4 separate regions of the Homo sapiens genome follow, and regions 1, 2 and 3 are each linked to region 4. Evidence: promoter capture Hi-C in 16 types of primary human blood cells and fetal thymus (Javierre and others, 2016). All regions are on one chromosome and are shown on one strand. The core of a region is centred on a gene start or on the middle of the fragment in contact, and the rest is flanking DNA. Distances in the headings are between cores, read along the strand shown.

What was found. Contacts are between HindIII fragments. The CHiCAGO score rates a contact against its expected background, and 5 or more counts as called.
Region 1: a contact is called between a fragment that was not itself captured here and the fragment with the promoter of MBD2 in region 4, in 1 of 17 cell types (total CD4 T cells). The highest score is 6.0, in total CD4 T cells.
Region 2: a fragment that was not itself captured here is called in contact with the fragment with the promoter of MBD2 in region 4 in 1 of 17 cell types (activated CD4 T cells); the score reaches 5.7 in activated CD4 T cells.
Region 3: a contact is called between a fragment that was not itself captured here and the fragment with the promoter of MBD2 in region 4, in 2 of 17 cell types (M1 macrophages and M2 macrophages). The highest score is 10.7, in M1 macrophages.

Annotation. Positions count from the first base shown.
Region 1 is chr18:54,932,410-54,938,247 of GRCh38, forward strand. CCDC68 (coiled-coil domain containing 68) reads right to left here. Exons shown (of 12, transcript NM_025214.3): 5 at 5,548-5,688; 6 at 4,424-4,549; 7 at 2,411-2,539. Among named protein-coding and RNA genes, the nearest start is that of CCDC68, 24 kb to the right of the region's middle. The HindIII fragment of the contact is 561 bases long and covers 2,529-3,089 here.
Region 2 is chr18:54,835,716-54,841,292 of GRCh38, forward strand. All of the region lies in intron 1 of RAB27B (RAB27B, member RAS oncogene family), which reads left to right. Among named protein-coding and RNA genes, the nearest start is that of RAB27B, 10 kb to the left of the region's middle. The HindIII fragment of the contact is 3,513 bases long and covers 819-4,331 here.
Region 3 is chr18:54,953,896-54,959,437 of GRCh38, forward strand. CCDC68 (coiled-coil domain containing 68) reads right to left here. Exons shown (of 12, transcript NM_025214.3): 1 at 5,441-5,542. It also overlaps the pseudogene MAP1LC3P. Among named protein-coding and RNA genes, the nearest start is that of CCDC68, 2.8 kb to the right of the region's middle. The HindIII fragment of the contact is 3,121 bases long and covers 1-3,023 here.
Region 4 is chr18:54,221,495-54,227,085 of GRCh38, forward strand. It overlaps MBD2 (methyl-CpG binding domain protein 2), which reads right to left and starts at 3,175. Exons shown (of 7, transcript NM_003927.5): 1 at 2,524-3,175. The coding sequence starts at 3,065. It overlaps SNORA37 (small nucleolar RNA, H/ACA box 37), which reads right to left and starts at 918; the gene lies at 790-918. RefSeq lists a silencer at 2,876-3,265 and enhancers at 4,016-4,558, 4,559-5,099. The HindIII fragment of the contact is 9,949 bases long and covers 1-3,541 here.

The DNA of each region.
Region 1 (5,838 bases), core at 1,559-4,058, 710 kb after region 4:
TGAACTCCTGGCCTCAAGCGATCCTCCTGCCTCAGCCTCCCAAAATGCTGGAATTACAGGCGTGAGCCACCACACCTGGCCTAAATCATTTTTTATTTTAAATAAAACTGCACATTTCCCCTCCACATCATCCACACTTACCTCCACCCTCCAGAGATTCCAGTAGGCTTGCCCTCCAGAAAGTCACTGAACTATTCTGGAAGGTTGCTGCATGGCCTTACTAAGCCATGTGCATCCTGTCTGCTTCCTTTGTCCAAGATCTCCTGGAGACAGCCCACTGTTGCGAGTTATTATCAGGGCAGGAGATAGGCCATCACTTCCCAAGAATGTCCTGCCAGGATCTGAGCCACTGAACCTTATTCTGGGGCATGCTCCTCTGCCTTTGACTGGGCTTTCAGCCTCCCTAAAGGACTCATAGAGGAATTAAGAAAGGGAGATCTGGGAAGTTCCTTGAGCCTCACACAATCCAGATATACTACATTGTCATCTCCACAAAAAGAGACTGTCTGGTTCATTCACAAATATATATTCAGCCCCTAGTTCTATGCTACACATGGTGGTGTTCAAATATTTGTTTAGTAAACAGTCAAGTAAATATACCCCAGAACTCTGAGATGAACTAACATCTAGTACACATTTCTTGGGATTACTAGGAAATAGAAATTATCTTCCACTGTTCTTTCTTTTTTTTGACACGGAGTCTCGCTATGTCACCAGGCTGGAGTGCTGTGGTGCAATCTCGGTTCACTGCAACCTCCGCCTCCTGGGTTCAAGCAATTCTCCTGCCTCAGCCTCCCAAGTAGCTGGGACTAAAGGTGCGTGCCACCATGCCCAGCTAATTTTTGTATTTTTAGTAGAGACGGGGTTTCACCATGTTGGCCAGGATGGTCTCGATCTCTTTGACTTCATGATCTGCCCACCTCGGCCTCCCAAAGTGCTGGGATTATAGGCATGAACCACCATGCCCAGCCTGTTCTTTTGTTAATTTGGGGGCAGTGACGGTTGCCACTAAACCTGACCAATATCACTGGGTTTGAGATGGCGTGAGCTCTAGACTAAACTTAAATTTTAAGCTGGTTAATCAAGTTGTTTGGTTAAGCAATTTATTCGTTTCCCAGAATTGTCTTTCTTTCCTTAATGCAAACATTCTTTGTGCTATCTTAGTTTTGTTAAGCTATTTATTATAGGATCAAGTATTCTACCACTACCAAGTATACAACCAAATATTACAGTTTTTCCAACACAGCATAATTATAAATTGTCATGCCTGGATAAACTAATTGCTTAAGGAGACTCTAACCCAGTGATTCTGCTAAAGTATAACACTCAGTGACCTTCCACATAATACACATGCAGCTGAATATTATCTTAGAGCCACTTGATAATGGGCATATTTAATTTTTGTGATTTCCTCATAGGAGCTTCACCAAGACTACAAATTCAACCAAATCACAATGTCATAAAACTTTAAATTCTTGGGAAACATTTTTAAACAAATCAAGTTTCCTTTGGTAAGAAACCTGAATATTGAAATGTGATGTTTTTGAAATGACATTTATAAAATGGCATAAACCCAGGCAGACTCATAAAACAAATTAAAGCTAAAAAGAATACAGGCAAATACAATAAATATAAAAAATGTATTGGGCAATATTTACTAGTATCCAAAGCCTATATTTTTCTCTATCCCCAATTCAGTTTCAGAGATGCCAGTTTTCTCTTTGTTTTGCTAATAAAAAATATTCCTTGATTTGTCCAAATTCTAAATTCTATGGCATACATACACAAATTTATGTGTTCACCTTTTGTGTATATTTTGAGTGCCAGCTACTTAAATGAACATGGCATGAAACATTTTAAAATTTTTCTTCTATTATTGCTCTTCTCTAAATATGCCTTCTTAAAGTTCCAATTTCTATAGAATAGATTTTCTTAATGTGAACTGTATCTCTCCTAGTGCAGCCGTAGGTTTTTCCAAACACAAAGTAGACTTGGGTGGCCAAAAATGGATACTGCACTGACTCTAATACATAAAAATGCTGTGATTACAGGGAACTGCTACATTATTACTCCTAATAGATGGACTTTGTGATCTTTTCCATTATTTGCATTCACAGCCTCACCTGGTTCCCCTTTCTAAGTCACATATTTCCTAGAAAGAGAAAGTGACAAATGATGATATGACTACAGTATTTGCAGAAAGGTAAATCAATCACCACAGTATAGATCATATGAAATGTTTATGGGAAAAATTAATATTAAATACTTCCTAAGGCCAAGAATTGTAAAGAATACTTTCACATAATATTATCTTATTTAATTTAATATCCTATTTATTTTAGTATTATTTTATTTCATTCTCATCCTAATGCTGTCAGTAAGAAAATCCTCTAATTCTCCAGGGGCGTACCTTTTCCATTCTCTGTACAAGGTTCTCCAATTCTGTAATTTGACTGTGTTTTTCTTCAAGTTTTTCAGCAACTTGATTCAGATTTTCAACATGTTGTTTCAATTTCTGTTCTTTTTCAAGCTTGTTAACCTATGGTCAGAGAATCAGTTGTGTTGTGAAAACTCTGTTTTTCTTAAACCTATACACATATTACCTCTTTCTATAATTTTCTAATTAGCCAAAAAAATTCAGAATTCATACTTGTTTAGAATTACTCTTTTGATTTCAGTGTTTACTTCAAAATAACCCTGATAGACTACAACAACATTAAATAGAGAATTAATAATGTATAAATATTCTTCCTAGAATGTTTCCATTTGTTACCATAAAGCATACTTCCTGAACAGGTATAAGAGAGAAAGATGCTAATTTAACGAAAGCAACATTTTTGACTTTTTCTCAACAATTATTATCCAGAACAAAAAAAACCTTACATGTTCAATTAAAACACGTTTTATGTTTAATTAGAAAGTGTCATAAAAGCAGAATAACTCCTCAGTGTGTCATGGTGCTACTTCATAGGCATAGAGCAGGGGTTGTTCTGAACCATCATAGGAGAGAAGACTCCATCTAGCAGGCAGTAAGCTACAGTGGGACTGTGTCGACTAACTTGTTACTCTTCTGTGTGTGTATTTAACAAAGCTTGACATTTCACAGGGAAAAATAAGTGTCTGGCTTCCCTTGTAAATACCAAGTGGGCCTTCCAGTCAGGTCACTCCAGGCTGGTGCCGAGCCCACATTACAGGGATGCACACTTCCCGTCCCCACAAGCGCCCCCATAGCATAGCACCCTCATCCGCTTCCCGCTTATGTTCTTCATCTGCACCCAGCATGCATGTGAGTTTGCAACCATCACTACCACAGCCTGATGCATGAAAGGGTGTCACCTAGGCAGTGAATTTCCTACTGTACTCCCCTGAGGACCTTCTTAGAGCCTGAGCTGACAGACACCTGGGTGCCCCAAACTATGATGAATGAACTTTCCTATTAGCTGTTTTATAGTTTTAATTTTGGCAAACACACACACACAGGCATACACACACTTTTTTGACTCCTCCAGTTCTAGAATATATTTTTCAGACAGATTTTATTGGTCCTAGTATATATACTTCAGATTTAAAAACAAATGAACAAAAAAGAATATGTTTGAGTGTCTGTACATGATTTTTATTTTTAAAATTTATACATATTTACATATTAAAATATAAAAGCATCTAAATTTATATTTTAAAAAATATATAACTATATTATTTATATAGATAAATATATTTATTTATATAGATATTATATATTTATTTATTATATTAGATATTATAATTATATAGATAAATATATATAATTATTTATATAGATAAATATATATCTATATATTTTTAAAAAATATATAGTTATATATATTTAAAAATATATAGTTATATATTTTTAAATAATATATAAAAATATAAATATATAAAATATATAACTTTATATATTATTTAAAAATATATAGATACATATTTTGTTTTCTGTTTTTTTAAATCCGAAGTATCTATCCTAAGACCAAAACAATTTTGAAAGCATGTGTCTAGCCCAACTCTTTCATTCTAGAGACAAGGACACCCAAATCCAGAGAGGAAGAATGGCTCAGTCTGGGCCATCTAGCGAGTCAACGGCAGAGCCCGAAGAGAAGTTACCAGCCCAGCTCCGCAGAGCCAGTCCAGATTTCCAGGCAGGGTGGCACTGCCTCCCTCCCACCTGTGCTCATGGGGGCTCTGGGCAAGAACTGCAACACAGCAGCTCAGCAACATCTGGGGTGTCCGGCTAAGCAGGGGTGAGAGAAATTGGCAAAAGAGACAAGCACACCGCTTCTTTCCCAAGTCTTTTGCCAAGTCACTTGGCCATTGCTTGTTTCATTTCTAACTCTTCTAGAAAGATGAACTTCAACAGCTCAGGGTGGGGGCTAGTTCTCCAATAGACAAGCTGCATGTTTGGTACCTGGAGTAATTGTTTACTGTCCTCCTGCTTCTTTCTCACTTCTTCAGATTGCGTTTGGTAGTTTTCAAATAATCTCTGGGCCACGTTTCTCAGAGCTGCTGCTCCTGCTTCTCTGGAGGCTTGCAGCTAGAAAAAAGGTCACTATGCATGTTCTGACATTTACAACAAAAAGTGTTAAAGGCAGAACAGTTTGATGGGCAATTAAGAACACCAAAGGTATAACTATACCATTTACAGCCTCATAGACAATGGATACGAGAGAAGACACTGTTATTTGGTAAGAGGAAAATGTAAAATGAGAAACTCCCTATTTAGAGGGGCTGTTGAACAGGCAGATTTGCCATAGTCAAACCAAACCAGAGCTCTGTGCATAGTAACGTCCTGCAGTGATAGTCCTCACTGTTCACATAACTCCATGGTGCTCTGTCAGCTTATACACTTATTTGCAAGCCTTTTATCATTAATGTCCATAACACTATTAAAAAGTGTATCTTCCTGAAATAGAAGTGGGACAAGGTTAAAGTATTGAGGACAATAATGCTAAAATGTTATGAATCTTTCCAGGATTTAACCTAAGGAAACAATCAAGGATGACTATAAAGACTTCCCTACCAAGATATTCATTGCAGGACTGCATATAAAATAAACCCCTAAAGAGAAAAATCAAAAGCATTCAGCAATAGACAAATGTAAAAATATTGTGACATTTGACTATGAAGGCTATAATTAATATTTATTAAATATGAACACACTTTTAAAAAGGTATTGTGGATTGTGGTAAGAACAATTAACATGAGATGTACTAAGTGTACAGTACAGTATTGTTAACTATAGACACAATGTTATGCAGTAGATTTCTAGAACTTATTCATCTTGCATGACTGAAATTGTATAACTGTTGAACTTTTGTAAGATATTTTCAATAACAAAAGAAGCCTCAAAAATAAAACAGTGAGATATGATTTGTGAAATATAAAAATGCTTCTCTATGTAAGTGAGCATGCAGATGGACCTATGGATGTGTGTGGACATCTCTCTGCTTTTACAGAGCCACAGATGCTAACAACCCATTCTATTAGCTCGAAGGCTCAAAACACAAAATTTGAAACTTCTAAAAGTCATACCTTGATTTTCAATACTTCATTCTCTTTGTTCATTTCTAAGAGCTGTAGGTCTTTTCCTTTTATCTTTTTCATAAGCAAATCCAAACTGCAACAAGAAGGATCCATTTCAGAATCAGAGCCCTGTTGAAGGTTTCCACAGTGCTGAAACGGACAAATGAAAATCATAGACCTGACTATCTTTTCCTCTACAAACTTTGACAACAATAATGATCATTTAGTATTACATATATCAAAGAAGCTTCAGATCAGCACAAACAAACATCTTTTGAATCTCAAATATCAATGGGAAAT
Region 2 (5,577 bases), core at 1,325-3,824, 610 kb after region 4:
CCTGCATAGCAGTAATAGTAATAAGATGAAATGAGCAACTTTGGGTTTGCTTTTCTCGTGTAAAGTCACTAGGCCATCATCAGATGCTACTTATTTTGAAATTGGCCTATACAATCTCCCCAGATCTCCTTTGCTGTATTTTATTTTTTCACTTACCTACTAGGAAAACCAAGAAGACAAAAGTAAAATGCACCCAGCAAGTACTCATTAGTATTGTTTCTGAACACGCTTAATTTGGGTGCCCTCAGGAATGTACGTACTTGATGAGAATTTATGCATCTGTGATTACAGAGCAGCTTATATTTAGATAAAGGTGAGGAGGAGATGAAAAATGGATAAAGACAGAACATACTGATCACTAGGTGCAGGTACACCAACCTGCAGGCTTTGTGTCCTTTGTAGACTTGGAGAAACCTTGCTGGGCATCTGTTTCCTGTGCAAGCTCTGAGGAAGTCATAAAATTCTACATTGCGGTTTTCTTTGGAAAGTGATTAAATGATAATAACTGAGTTGCTTTGAAGATGAATTTCCCTCAAATTATATTGTTATTCTGCTTCCCAGCAGATCTTCTTATCAAGTGTATTTTCCATGGTTCTGATTCCTTACAGTTTTCACCCTTTCAAAGTTCACTTTGACTTTTAAGGTAGACTTATGCATGAGGCCAGGGACCCAGAAACCAGTTTCCCATTCTTCAGTTCTAGATGGTGTTAGATTCTAGTGATTTTAGTAAAACAAAGCCTTCAAGGTCTAAGTAGTCCAGAGCAGTGAGGTTGATTCTTAAAATCAATATCGTAAATATTGAGACACATGAAGGTATAAGCTTGGCAACTTGAGAACAGAGAACTAACTCAAAATAGAAAAGGAACAATTAAAATTCATAAATATTAACTATATGTTTAAAGAAAGATGTTCTGTTTGCATTGCAATATTTTATAACCAGTAGAATATTTTTGACTTATTTTTCAGGAATCATGTTTTCTAAAAGTGTGTAGACATTAAAATCGGAGGATTTAAACATAAAACTGCTTTCTAATTGGTGTTTTCCACAGTAAACATGCATTGTGCATAGTCACTTGATCCAAAAGATGAAAATAAGAAATCCAAGAATTAATGACATGCTTCAAGGAGCAAAATTTCTGCCTGTTGTAGGACATTATAAACATTAGGAAAAATGTTAAGTTGGTTAAAGCTGATGATGTTATTACAACAAAAGACCTGGTCACCATGTTAAACCTGACAATACCAATTTAATCTCTGGTATAATTTTTGTCTATCTGATTTTTTGCTTAAAACATTCATTAAGTGCCTACTATCTGTCAGGTCATATTAGGTACTTTAGTTGTAATTGTCAGTAAGATATAGTTCCTACTCTTAAAGAACTTAGAATCTAGTAAAATAGAGAGTTACATGAGCAGATAATTTTAATGTAACTTGATAAGTTTTCAGTTAGTGGTTTGAAGGCAGTATTATGGTAATAAAGAGGAAGATAAATTTAAGGAGGTTAAAACTGTAGAGAGATCAGTGAGGAGTGGCAAATACAAAAGGTCTGAAATTGTAAAGTTGGAGAAGATAAGTTATATTAATATTAAAGGAATAATTAGCGAGGGTGGGCATTAACCAGACATTGGGGGAAAGGAGAAATTATTATAAAGTCTAAATTTCTGGCTGTACTAAGGCAATAGATGGATAAATAGTGGTCCTCAAAATTGAAAATCAGGCATACAAAAGGAAAGGCAGGTTGGGGGAGGAAGAAGAACTGCATTTGAGGTACCTGTGGTTATTCAATTGCATACGTTCAAGAAAATGACTCTTGAAATCTAGACCTCTCAGGAGAGGTCAGGCTGGTGATAATGACTGGGAAATGCAGGCACACGGGTGATCTCCAAAATCTATGAGACCAAATGCCATCTGTCAAGGAGGTCCTGGAAAGAAGGAGGTGGAGTAACCATAAGAGAGGAATAATTATTTTCTTTATTTTCTGCAAGCACTACTCTGCTTTGGCTAATAAAGACATTTAAGTTCTGGAAGGACTTGGGGAAAATTTAAGGTTATATATCTAATTATATATATGTGTGTATATATATGTATTTATTATTAAAATCATTGTTGTTCAATTGAAGGACATAATAAATATGCCTGTAGCTTCTGTGGGGGCAATCACTAAGTAATGTTTCCTTCATGCATAATTCTTTTCACCTATGTTCTCTCCCAACCCACCCTGTGAAAAATGACAAGTCGTGTCTCAATCAGGAATATGTTCTAGTACTAGAGATTGGGAACCCAACAGAAAGTGATTGAATCAAGTGATTCTGGCTCATTAATATCATGCTCTAATAATTGATGTACAGCCAATGTTAATTTAAGTGCAAATTAACTCCCATTCTCTTCATTTTAATTAGTAGCTTTGTTCTAGCTCTGCTGTCACTAAATTGATAACACTTTTATCCTCAAGATCTACTTACCAAAGCATAACAAAATGTATCTTGATGTTCTAAAAAAATTACAGAATAATTGTCTAGTAATGAGTATTTGTGTAGATTCCAATAATATGCAAAATATTGTCAAGAAATTGACTTGAAAAACATGTCAAATGATTGACCAAATTTAGGGAAAGTTACCTTGTCTCTTCTTCTGCCTCTTCTCTTCCCCTTCTTCATCTCCATGTTAATATTTTTTTTCTAGTCCACTGTTTGAAAAAGTTTGGGGAATATTCTATTACATTTATAAAAATTCTTTATACCACCATCTGGGTGCTTCACACTCTCCATCACAAGTATTTCTGACTATTTAATAATTAGTACGAGAACATATTGTATGCCTACTTGTTCGATTGAGATATTCTCTGTGTTCTTTCTGGATTTCAGGTGTATAACACTTTCTTTGTTATGGATCCATCATTTGAGACATCTAGTTCTGAACAAATATGTTTTTCATAAAAGCTCCCTATAATATGGCAATATCTGAGTTATTTCTGTTGTGGAGATCATAGATGGAGAACATTTAAATGACTCTTACGAGTTAGACACATACCTACAAATATTCCAGGCAAGATTTCTGATACAATCTTGTGGTCTTTAATTTTTTTTCTTAAGCATTTGGCTACTTATATTATTCACTAAACTAGTATCCAACTGCTGATCTTCTATGTTATCTCCATCTGTAAATTGATCAACCTTTCACATTATTTTGGGAAATATCAATGTGTTTTTTCTTGTGTTTTGTTAGTAAGTAAGCTAACATTATAGGGACAAATCTCTTGTTTTATAAAGAGTATATGGACTTATATGAGACAGTAATAATAAATATGGAAAAAGGATACAAATATTGCTGGAAAAGAAGTCCTCCTACAACTTATGATGAACACTTGTGAATCATTTTAAATAATGACTATTTGACATGGTTATCAAGGGTGAAAATATGCATTGATGTTAAACCCTTGACTAAAGACTGACAATAAGCAACCCCGTTTTCAGCTTCAAATTATTATCAGCAAAAGCATACATTCATTGAATATAACAGGGTTCAAGTCTAGGCTATTGTGTAAGAAAATCAAAAGTTTTAGTAATTTTGACTTTAATGGGAACAGTTTTGCAAATTCTGTTTTTTCCTACTACTGCTTTCTCTTTGGAATAAGTTTTTACATATAACTTGCTAAGATTACAAGACCTTTGTGCCATAAATAAACACAGCATGGAAAAGATGAAAGAGAGTTAAAGTAACAAACATTCTCCCATTGTAGCCATAATCTGATTCCAGTTTTAGGTAACCCAATTACCAAAATCAGGCCAAGGAATGGTTTCAAGGCACAACTGAACTAGGTAATGCAGGCAACAGTTAGGTCTTCTCCAAACCACAGGGTCCCAAGGACAAATAAATACAAGGGCAGAAAAGAAAAGGTTTCTTATCTACTAAGGTCCTATTTCTTTGTCCTGATGTACTATCTAGCACCCCCAGATGCTGAGAGTATACCTAAAATCCAACACTAATTAAGAAAAGTCTAAGAAGCAGACTGAATGGTGAGTATCTGTTTGCTTTTTTAGCAGCAAATATCACTTCATTACTCTGACTTTAAAATTACCCTGTACACATGGATCAGAAATGAATTTATACTAGAATTACAGGAGTGAATATTTTTATGAAATTTATTCCAGTGATGTTTCCAGAAGTACATTTACACTATAGCATAATGTCTATACATAAGTCAATAACATTATAAATAATAGTTGCTTTGTCATGACACCTTATTAAGGAAGAAACAAAAGATGCTTTTTTGCAGACTTTGTGAAGAAATAATATATCCTCAGATTCTCCTACTTAATTGGAAATAATGAAGCTTTTTATAAGGCCAAACATTCTCTATGGCTCCTAAAATTCTGTCTGGGCAAATAATGTTATGACTTGTCTATTTTATCATGAAGGTAAGATTGTCTTCTTGAGTATCTTTCATATTAATTGAGGGTAAAGTTCTTTCCTTGTAGTACAAATCATGGGTAAAATTAATCTTTCTTAGAACTTTATTTCAGAGCCCATCTTTCTTTCTTTTGATGTTTTTCTACAATGCTTAGTGCCATTTTGCAGCCCCCAAGCTAGGAAATCAATGATTTGTTGGCCAGTCTTTCTGATAAATTAATTTCTGCTAAAGTAGTTATGACTAAAAACAGCTATAAATTACTGTTCCCAGTAAATATATTTGCTTGTTTACATGTAACAAAAATCCAAAGTCATGCCTAATATTAGAGGCTCCAGACTTAAAAATAGAGTTGTACAAGAAGAATTTGGGGCAAAAATAACTTTATCAGTAAAATCTAATGTGACCCAAGTGGATGGCAGTGCTATGACCTGGAATTTCTGGAGCAGCTACTGCTTTAAATATTCCATTACACTGGCAGATTCAGGGTTAAATAAATAAATATTTAACAAGTTAAATAAATGTTTTGATCCATAGTTCTGAAAATATGGTCACTATCCTCTCTTGTAGAAAGGGCCTTTTGTCTTCCTCCTGTAGAGTTTCTAAGTCCATCCTCAGGAAGGGAATTTCATAGAATTTGAGGCTCATTCACCAATACTGTCAACAACACTTGACTGGGTATCTTTGACAATAAGTTCTCAGTTTCCCACCTATTTAACATCTAAAAGTACAGATAGCCAGCTGGGCACGGTGGGTGGCTCAAGCCTGTAATCCCAGCACTTTGGGAGGCTGAGGCAGGCGGATCATGAGGTCAGGAGTTCGAGACCAGCCTGGCCAACATGGTGAAACCCCGTCTCTACCAAAAATACAAAAATTAGCCGGGCATGGTGGTGCACGCTGTAATCCCAGCTATTCAGCAGGCTGAGGCAGGAGAATTGCTTGAACCCGGGAGGCAGAAGTTGCAGTGAGCTGAGATCACATCATTGCACTCCAGCTCTGGGTAACAGAGAAAGACTCTGTCTTTGGGTGGCGGGGCGGTGGGGGGTTTGGTGAGAGGGGCGGGAAAAATACAGGTAGTCCTCCCCATCCATGGGTTCATTATCCATAGATTTAGCCAACTGCAGATAAGAAGTATTTGGGGAAAAAAATAAATGATTGCATCTGTCCTA
Region 3 (5,542 bases), core at 213-2,712, 730 kb after region 4:
ATTTGTCCATCTGCACATACACTGTTGGATCGATGATGAAAATATCTACTTATTCAGGGCCTGAAACAGCCAGGACCCTCCCCTCCCCTCCCCTCCCCTCCCTTCCCCTCCCCTCCCCTCGCCTTCCCTTCCCTTCCCTCCTTCCTTTCTTTCTTTCTTTCTTTTTTTTTTTTTGTTTCAGACATAGTCTCACTCTGTCACCCAGGGTGGAGTGCAGTGGCTCAATCTCAGCTCACCGCAACCTCCACATCCCAGGTTCAAGCAATTCTCCTGCCTCAGCCTCCCGAGTAGCTGGGACTACAGGCATGTGTCACCACACTCGGCTAATTTTTGTATTTTTAGTAGAGATGGGGTTTTACCATGTTGCCTATGGCTGGTCTCAAACTCCTGACCTCAGGCGATCCACCCGCCTCAGCTTCCCAAAGTGCTGGGATTACAGGTGTGAGCCACCATGCCGGGCCATGACCCTACTTTTTATCAACACCATCGCCCACCCTCCCACACCATGAAGACGTTTGACTTATCCAAGAGCAGCATCCTACCAAAATCCAGGTGTTTATAGAAAGATAGAAGAGTCAGAGGCAGCTTCCCACTTTGGGTAAAACTAAGTTCCTTGTATCAGATCACAACAATGTAAGTGACCTAATCAAAATAAATAGCAGGTGCTTACAGCTCAATACTAATCAAGCCTTCTTTCTCTTGATAAACCAACATAGCTTGGTGAATGTCTCTGCCCTGATCCTGATCCCTGGAGTATATGAAAGTGAGAATGATGAAGGTGGATTCCTGTAGATGGTAAATACCTCTTAGGAGATACTTGCTATAAAATCGTGAGTATAAGGCTAGAAAAAAAATGCATTTGTTTTAGAATTTTAAAAATCCTTACCAAGGAAACAAAGGTGTATTACCAAACAAGATTGATTACTCCATCCAATCACAAACAGATCATCAAAACAGTAGTAGTATTCTCATCTAGGAGTTTTAGGAAGTTGTTTGACATTTCAAGCAGAAAAAAATGAGTTGCAAATGAAGACATTCAGCTTTGGAAAACTATATTATTTAACCTACATTATCTTCTTTTCAAATTGTAGATGTTAAAAAAAATAGTTTGCATTCTAAATTGCCAATAAAATAGACTTCAAAAGTTGGCCACAGTGGTTCACATCTATAATCCCAGCACTTTGGGAGGCCAAGGTGGAAGGATTGCTTAAGGCTGGGAATTGGAGGCCAGTCTGGGTAACACAGTGATGCCCCATCTATGAAAAAAAAAATTTAATTAGCTAGGCATGGTGCCACATTCCTGTAGTCCCAGCCATACAGGAGGCTGAGTGAGGCAGGAGGATCACTTGAGCCCAGGAGTTTGAGGCTTCAGTGAGCTAGGATCCTGACACTGCACTCCAGCGTCAGTGACAGAATACAACCCCGTCTTGAAAAACACACACACACACAAACAGACCTCAAGTTATTTTGATGCTCTTTTTTTTCCCCCAAAAGGAATTTGCAATTTGAGTAGTAACTTAAGGGCACTCAGAGAGACACTGTCTTCTTTTTAGGCTCACAGAACTGGCTAGATTTTTATAAAAGGATTTCTGTTCTACTAGAGAAATCTTCCTAAGAGGATATTTAAGCATAAGTTGTGAAGCATGACCCGCCCCCACCACTCAAAATGCATTTGCCATAATAGTTAGCACAAAGCAAGGTCAGTGGAGATATATAAGAAAACAATTCTGGCTGGGAACTGCTATTCCAGTTTCCTGATTCCTAACAGAGGTATACCAAAAGTCAATGTTCTTGCAAAGTTAAGAAGTTCTTTTTTGTTTGTTTGTTTGTTTGTTTGTTTGAGGCAGAGTCTCGCTCTGTTGCCCAGGCTGGAGTGCAGTGGTGACATCTCAGCTCACTGCAACCTCCACCTCCCAGGTTCAAGCAATTCTCCTACCTCAGCCTCCCCAGGAGCTGGGATTACAGGCGCATGCCACCACACACAGCTAATTTTTAAAAAATCATTTTTAGTAGAGAAGGGGTTTTACCATGTTGGCCAGGCTGGTCTCCAACTCCTGACCTCAGGTGATCCACCTGCCTCAGCCTCCCAAATTGCTGGGGAAAATTAGAAGTTCAGACGAGTCTTGCTCTGTTGCCCAGGCTGGAGTGCAATGGTGCAATCTTGGCTCACTGCAACCTCTGCCTCCCTGGTTCAAGCGATTCTCCTGCCTCAGCCTCCCGAGTAGCTGGAATTACAGGCGCATGCCACCACGCCCAGGTGATTTTTGTATTTTTAGTAGAGATGGGGTTTCACCATGTTGGTCAGGCTGGTCTCGAATTCCTGACCTCGTGATCTGCCCAGCTCAGCCTCCCAAAATGCTGGGATTATAGGTGTGAGCCACTGTGCCCAGCCAAGGTAAGAAGTTCTTAACATTGGTTTGTTGGAGAGTTACACACAGAAAACACCACTGCTTAATAGGAACCTGGATGTTTAACTCTTGGCATTCATATTTAAAATTATCATAGAAGAGAGTCAAAGCACCAAATAAGAGGTTGGCTCATATCAGTTATTCTCACATTATGCTACCATAGAAGCTGCACCAATGTATCTGTTTTACCATGCAAAAGTATTTGCAGAAAGGTCTACCAAATGGTGAACAAAATGCGGCATAGCCATGGCATGGAATAAATCCTAGTTAAGCAATAAAAAGGAACCAACTACAGCTACATGTGACAACCTGAATAAACCTCAACAGCTATTCTAACTGAAAAAAGCCAGATGCTAAAGACTATATATTGTACGATTCCATCTGTATGAAATGTCCAGAAAAGGCAGATCTAAACAGACAAAATAGATTAGGGGTTGCTGGGGCTGGGGTAAGAACGGTGAGTGATTGCAAACAGGCCCCAGGGATATTTGGGGAATGATGAAGTGATCTAAAATTGGATTGTGCTAATGGTTGCACCATTCAGTAAATTTACCAAAAATCATTGAATTATACACTTGGATGTATTTTATGGTATGTAAATTATACCTCCAATAAAGCTTTTTTAAAAAAAAATACAGAAGGAAAAGTAAGAATAACTTGAATAAAGATGCTGTTTTCCTCTGGGGGTGGGGTGAATGTAACTGTAGTCTTATTTTTCTAATTTATAGGAAAAAATATAATTTAATGGATAGATGTTTTTCAGTTTTAAATTTTTTGTTCATTAATTTTTGTCTCTAGATTATTGTCATCCATACTACAAGTTTAGTTTTTATTTAATTTGCATGAAATTGATACTTAGCTATTTTAAGTTAATATTTCATAACATTAAGCCTGGAACACATGATTCCTAAGTTCTTCCCCAACCTAAACAAAAGAGAAAACCACTGAGCAGAATAACATGCAAGCTCCTCTATCATTTTTAGACTTGACTTTTTAAATCAGTGAAAGGAAATATGTGATTTGAAACTAATCTAGTTTTAGTCACTGTCGAAATTGAATGGATCATTTATGTGGTCTGTAAATCTATGGCCTTGACTTGGGGTGGCCTGGAGGACTCCAATGTAGTAAATTCCAGGAGGATAGAAATGTGTCTGATTTACACAGGGCTGTGTTTGGCCCAGACCCTACTTCCCCTCCCATCTGGTTCTCCCACACAGAACACAGTGTCCTCAATAAATATTGTTTCAATGAATACATGAATAGGCCCACAAATTTACAGATGTACCAAATAGTTTCTAAAACAATGTACACACACACACACACACTCTCTCTCTCTCTCTCTCTCTCTCTCTCTCATTTTCCAAACCTATATAAATGGCTGTTTTTGTGCTTAGTAAATGACATTCATTTAAACGTGTTAGTAAATTCATGGTAAAATTTTGCCATTATGAAATGTTTTCAATCAATAAATAGCCATATAATTTTGATGTAAATATCTCAGTTCTAAAGATGAGAAACTACTATTTTAAAAGACTTTTACATTCCCATCAAAATCTTCAGTTATTTCCCCTTTCAGTCATTATTCCAAGCAAATAAACACCTCATTTTTCAGGTTTGTCTAAATCTAGCTTACATTTTTTAGCTTTGGCCAAAATTTGGATTACAACTCACCTTCAATGTTGAGCATACTGTAAACAAATAAGCTAACAAATAACATGCCTATCAGTAATTCACAAAATAGCAACAGTATTAATTTCAAAAGTCTCTTTCTAGTTAGGACAAGGGATCAATTTATTTTGTAAATAACAAGAGGAAAGAACCTTCTTATGACGTCGGCCTTATGACGTTGGCCTGGGTCCCAAGAAGTGTAGTTGTTTTCATTCTTTCTGCAAACATTTGAGGAACCACACGGGGATACTCCCTGCCTTGGGCAGAAATTCCTCTGTGTCAGGGGCCTTCCCTCTCAAATTGGGAGTGGGGTGGGGAAGAGAGTGGGCAGCGGGGGAAAAGCATAACAACAGCACCAATTGTGTCTGCCAGGGTACCTGACACTCCTGCCCAGCTCACATATCAGGAAAACCAGACTTCAGTAGCTCTGAATATTTAATGGCATTAGGTAAAATCAAAAGAACAGATTATCTCCTCCCTATCACAAACACAGAATAATTCCTTTTTGTATTCTGACACTTCATCCGAACTATATACACCAAGAAAGTAAAAGAGGTTTTGATTCCTAAAATAAAACAATCAGAATATAATGGGGAGCAGGTACACCTTCAGTTATGTTCAGGGCTTGTTGCTTGTTCTGATCCTTATATTCAATTTTGTCTTCACTTCCAAAAAGGCTGAAAATTCACAGCTATGTTATCATCCAATCTAAAAACTACACTTGCACGGTCCCGTACTAACCTTCAGTAAGATAAGAGTGTTCCTTTGTCTAGCCGCCTAGCACTCTGTAACTTCCACATCTAAAATATCATGATGCTACTCAACATTAAGGAAAAGGTCAAGCAATGGGCTGCTCTTTTTACTACACCTGCGGCTGCAGAAGCCCGCACAAATGAATGAAGACAGCCACCTTCATTCATCTCTGCTCTTTAAAAAATGCGAGCGCAGTGACCTGTCAAAGCCACCACGCTGGAGTTCCTAGGTCAGGGCGTTTACCGCAGGACTTTTCTCCATAGCCTCTGAAATTAGCAGGCAGAAATCGCGGGGACCCCTGACAAACGGATTGTATAACAACAACCTAAATAAATAATCAGGTGTGCGCCGGACTAAGTAGGGGTTCCTCTCTGCGGAAAAGCAGCTCTTCCCAATGGGGAAGAAACTTCTCGCCCAGGAAATTCGAGCCCAGAACCGAGGTTTCCAGGGAGGATTACCTCTTCAACAAGGACCCTTTTACAGGAAATGTCCTTGATGCCAGGAACTCCACTGGGGAAGCCGCTGGAAAGGCACCTGGACACCCACACACATGGAGGGGATGCGGGGGCGCGCCGCAGGGACCGGGCCCGAAGGTGGCCAGACTCGCCTACCTTGTGGGGCGCCCAGCCGACGCGGGGTCCCGGTGCTGCTCCTCCCCTGGGCGATCGGACCTTGGGGCCAGGGTCGGCTGCCAGGGCCCTGCGAGTGCAGCC
Region 4 (5,591 bases), core at 1,925-4,424:
TTTAATGGCCAGGCCTGGTGGCTCACACCTGTAATCCCAGCACTGGCCGAGGCAGGTGGATCACAAGGTCAGGAGTTCGACACCAGCCTGGCCAATATGGTGAAACCCCATCTCTACTAAAAATACAAAAATTAGCCGGGCATGGTGGCAGGCACCTGTAGTCCCAGCTACTTGGGAGGCTGAAGAATCACTTGAACCCGAGAGGCGGAGGATGCACTGAGCCGAGATCGCACCACTGCACTCCAGCCTGGGCGACAGAGCTAGACTCCATCTCAAAAAAAATAAAATAAATTTAACATCAGAAAATTTACACAACATCCAAGAAAATGTTAAGTGGCCACAAATCCAAATGAGCACTACAACAATCTGACTTCTTGAAATAACTTTTCCAACTACAAGGAAAACCAACAAACAAAAAGCTCTGCAATACCCAAAGTCAGTCTGAACAAAAACATCATCCCAAAACCAAACAAACCATATCCCAGGAGAACTGCCACAGAGTAAAATTCAAAGTTTAAGATGTTCTACTGAGAATAGCCTAGTCATCTATTCCTCAAGGAGTTCAATCACAGATACAGAATAATCTTGTCAAATATAATTGCCTACAAGACATCAGCACATAGTTCACAGAAGGTTATGCAGACAGCCTGCTTAGAAAGAAAACAGAATGCTCTGTTAATGAAAGAATACTAGAAAACGAACAATTGTGAACGGCACTAAATGAAACTAATGAACTTGAGAAAACTAATCTTTTTTTAACCACAATAACCTTTTTTTTTAATCAGAAGAAATTGTCCCATTGAATGACAGCTGCCACTGGCACAGTCCCAGGGCAAGGATGCCAACAAAGGTTTTCTCTCAGCACCAGCTACCAAATCCTGGCCCCACAGCCTGAGGGAGGACCTGTGAAAGTGCTCACAATAACTTTCTTACCATTAAATCAAATATTTAATGATGAGGAAATACAAACCAAGACTATCACACTTTTTCTTTTTTTTCTTTAAAGAGATGGGGTTTCACTCTATTGCCCAGGCACAATCATAGGTCATTGCAGCCTCGAACTCCTGGACTCAAGAGATTCTCTCGCCCCAGCCCCGTAACTGGGACCACAGGTGATTACTACCTTCTTATGTTTAAAAGAAGTTCTCCATTTTATCATATGAGGTTTCAAGATGAGGGTCCAGATCAAGTGGAAGACTAAGTTCTATGAAACATCACTTTTATTTTTTAGTTGAGGTGAAGTGAACTTACTACAACTACTCATCCATATATAGCAACCATCAGGAATGTGTTCGTATTTACATGCTGCACCAGCAGTGATCACATTCTTGTGTGTGCATATGTATGTATATATGTGTATGTACATTTCTTTAACCTTTTCAATCTAGTTAAAAGTATTTTTAGTTCATAAGCATGGTATGTGTACAGACACATTTTCCCAGAGCTACTTGAAGAGGACAGGAAATCCTTTATAACATTATTACAATAGCTAAATGACAATTGTCTCCAATACCCATATACATTCCCTGAAAAATGCTTCAGTCAGTCCACAAACACGTACCTCCAAACTACTGAATACAAGTTTATATTATCTTCTATCAATAGCATGGCTTATTACAAAATTTAGTAAATGTGTATTAAGTCCACGGATGTCAATTGCCATAGGCACTTTCTTGAGCTTACTGGGTCACACAAACTGAAGACATCAGCAGCATGACCACGGGATTGCAAGATTACACTAAGGTGAAAAACCTTGAATCATTTAAAACAGGATGTCTCAACCTCAGCACAGGTGACAATTTGGGCCAGATCATTCTTTGTTGTGGCAGCTTTCCTTTGTATTATCGAATATGTAGCAGCATCTCTGGCCTCTACCCACTAGATGCCAGTATCACACCCTCCCCAGGTGTGAGAACCGAAAATGTCTCCAGACATTGACAAATGTTCCCTGGGGAGCAAATTTTGGTCTAGGAGTCTAAAAACTTAGTACAGTGTGTCAGTTTCAAAAGAGTATATTCTGCAATACCAAGAAGTTCCAAAAAAACTTCAGGCATTCCAAATAGCTGCTTTATACAAAACTTTCTTGGATGAAGTAAATGAAACCTTGTTACTGTAGATAGCTCATTCTTCCACATGTGCATGCTTAACACTTGTGATGATGAATCTGGGACAGGCTGGGACAGGAGCCAACAGTGACTGGGTTTTATAGTTTCGATGAATTACACCTCCTTTTAACCCTTCAGTGGACTAACCATCCCTGCCAGGCTAACCCTTTCTTCGCAAACCATCTTCCCCGACGCCTTCCACATAAGATGCCCTCCTGCGGGCCCTCACCTTTTGACACTGCCTCCCACCGCACTGGGGTCAACTCTCACCCAAGGGTTCCGCCACCTTCCACCACCAAACCAGCCTGTCCCTGCCACATGCCCCCCGGGCCCCAGCGCTCATCCTCTGCCCAGGCCCGCTCTTGACCCCTGACCCCGGCCTGACCCCGCCACCCCCTCCCCGCCCCCAGGGAGGTACCTGAAGTAGTAGACATCGCTCTTGCCAGCACTTAGCCCAGATTTTCGGATCACTTCCTCCTTCTTCCATCCGGGGGGGAGGGCCGGGCAATCCATCCTCTTCCCGCTCTCCGTGGCCCGGGGTCCCCTGGGCCCCGGCCCCGCGCTCCCCGACGGGAAAGGGACCGGCTCCCGCCGGGGGGCGCCGCCGCCACCGCTGCCGCCGCCGCCGCAGCCGCCGCCGTCGCCGCCAAGGCCGCTGCCGCCACTCGGGGGACGGCCGCGGCCCCGGCCCCGGCCCCGTCCCCGTCCCCGGCCACGGCCCCGGCCCCGGCCACGGCCACAGACGCCGCCGCCCCGGCCCGCCTGCTTCCACCGCCCCCGGCCACGGCCGCCGCCCCGAGCGCCTTCCCTGCGCACGCCGCTCACCGGGGACGGGGCGAGCGCGCTGCCCTGGCCCCCCTGCTCTATGGCGGAGTCGCCGCCAGCGCCGCTGCCGCCCGCCGCACTCTCCCCCTCCTCCTGCTCCGGGCAGCAGCGGCCTCCCCCCGGGTGCGCGCGCATCCAGCCCCCTCCCCAGCCGGCGCTGCGCTTCTTCCGTAACCGAGCCCTTGGAATCCCGGAGACCCGCCCCGCCCGCAGCGCGGCGCGCGGGGGACGCGCGCAAGCATCATAGAGCGGGCGCGCACAGAGCGGCCCTCCTGCCCGGGGCGTGGCCCCGGCCACCGCCTCTTAGGTCCTCCAAGCGCTATGGGCGGCCATCTTGTCTCCGCCTTCTCGGGGCCACGCCCCCTCCCGCGCTTTTCCGGCCCCCACTGGGCGCGCGGAGCTGGGAAGGTTGGTCGGGCTAGCCACCAGCTGGGGGTGTCATAGTGACTGTGGTTAGTTTGTTTCAAACGGGGTAACCTCCACCATTATGTGATTTTACCTATGTTTGCTTCCCAATTAATGAATAACAAGCAAAATAGATCTTATATTACATACCAACTCGGCTATTCATTTAAGGGGGTGATAGCCCCTTTTCCCGCCCCTCTGCACAAAGCTTGCAGGGGAGCTTATAATGAAGGAATGAAGCAAAGTGTCCCATTCGCTGAATACCAGTTCCCTCCTGAGCCTGGCTTCAGAGCCATTGACAGATTCTCCTGGAACCTTGTAAGGATGTAGGAAAGGAAATGATAACTTGGAATATGCCCATGAGTCAGATGGGGCTTACCTCTAGATTCTCCTTAGAATGACCAGAATCCCTAAATCCATCTAGAAATTTCCAGATGTCTTTGTCTAATACAAAAATCAGTGGCCTTTTATTTGGTAAATATTCCATTATGTTGAAAGTCCAGCCTAACTTACTGTCACAAGCCTTTAGGAAACTGTGTGGTATTCTTTTCGGTCTGCCAACTTGAATTTTAGAAATGCATATTTTCTATAAGTTGTCGAACACTTATAGAAGTGTGCTATTGATATTCAAGATAATATATTATGAAATATTTGGAAGATTGAAAAATGTAAAGCACATGTTATCAGCCTGATGATAAGCTATCTTGGGTTTCTATACTCATATGCCCTAAAAACTGAGGACCAAGTTTAACGTATAGAAAAAGTTGATTAATATAAAGCAACAAAAATCTAAAATTAATTTGGTTTATCTTTGCAGTATATGCAAACATTAACTCATACACACAAACTTGTCTGTCTCTAAACCTGACCTTAGTCTTCTTTTAATGTCCTTTAGTTGAAAGACACTAATTTGTGGTTTCCTACAAGAAATTTAGAAATGTGAATGTAAAAAATCATCAAGAAATGAGTTCTGAGGAGATCAGTACTGGAGACATTCATTTAGAAGTCATCTGTGGGCCGGGCGCGGTGGCTCACGCCTGTAATCCCAACACTTTGGGAGGCAGAGGCGGGCAGATCACCTGAGGTCAGGAGTTCAAGACCAGCCTGGCTAACACGATGAAACTCCGTCTCTACTAAAAATGCAGAAAATTGGCTGGGCGTGGTGGCGGGCGCCCGTAGTCCCAGCTGCTCCGGAGGCTGAGGCAGGAGAATGGCGTGAACCCGGGAGGCGGAGCTTGCAGTGAACTGGATCACGCCACTGCACTCCAGCCTGGCAGACAGAGCGAGACTCTGTCTCAAAAAAAAAAAAAGAAGTCATTTGTGGCCGGGCGCGGTGGCTTACTTCTGTAATCCCAGCACTTTGGGAGGCCGAGGCCGGCGGATCACGAGGTCTAGAGATAGAGACCATTCTGGCCAACATGGTCAAACCCCATCTCTATTAAAATACAAAAATTAGCTGGGCGTGCTGGCGTGCGCCTGTAATCCCAGCTACTCGGGAGGCTGAGGCAAGAGAATCGCTTGAACACGGGAGGCGGAGATTGCAGTGAGTCGAGATCCCGCTACTGCACTCCAGCCTGGCAACCGAGCGAGACTCCGTCTCAAAAAAAAAAAGTCATTTGTGAAAGTGACAGTTGAAGGAGGCCCTGGAAGTAAGTAAGCTCTCCAAGGAAGGGCTTGCGTGGTTAATAATAAAAGGAAAGAGGATCAAGAACTGAATCTTGAGGAATGCCAATACTTAAGGTTCCACTGAAGGAATAAAGGAAAAAAATGATATTAAAGTTTGTATGACATAAGAGAGTACTCTGATTTTCACACATAATTGAAAGTAAAGGGTAAACATGAGCAAAAATCTCAGTAGAAACGGTAATTGAGACAGGTAGTTGAGACAACAGATGGGAACAGGTATGCTTTTGGAAAATTCTACCTTTTCATGCTGTGCTAATAAGGCTGTAGATCAAATGATATATTGGATATAAAAGCATGCTTAAAGAAATAAATCACAGGATTTTCGGGTCATTATTTTAACTTCTACTACCAGATTCCATTTGCTAAATCCCAGAAGATGTAGCTTAATGTTCCCTCTGTTAAGAAAAATCTCATTTAGACATGTCAAAAGCTTTTTGGTTACACTTGAACTTTTCTGCTGTGATACCATAGAGCAAAGTAAAAATATATATATATATATATATATATATAAAATAAAAATAAATGCTCTTATTTATTCTCCCACTAAAAGAAAAAAAAATACTCCAATTA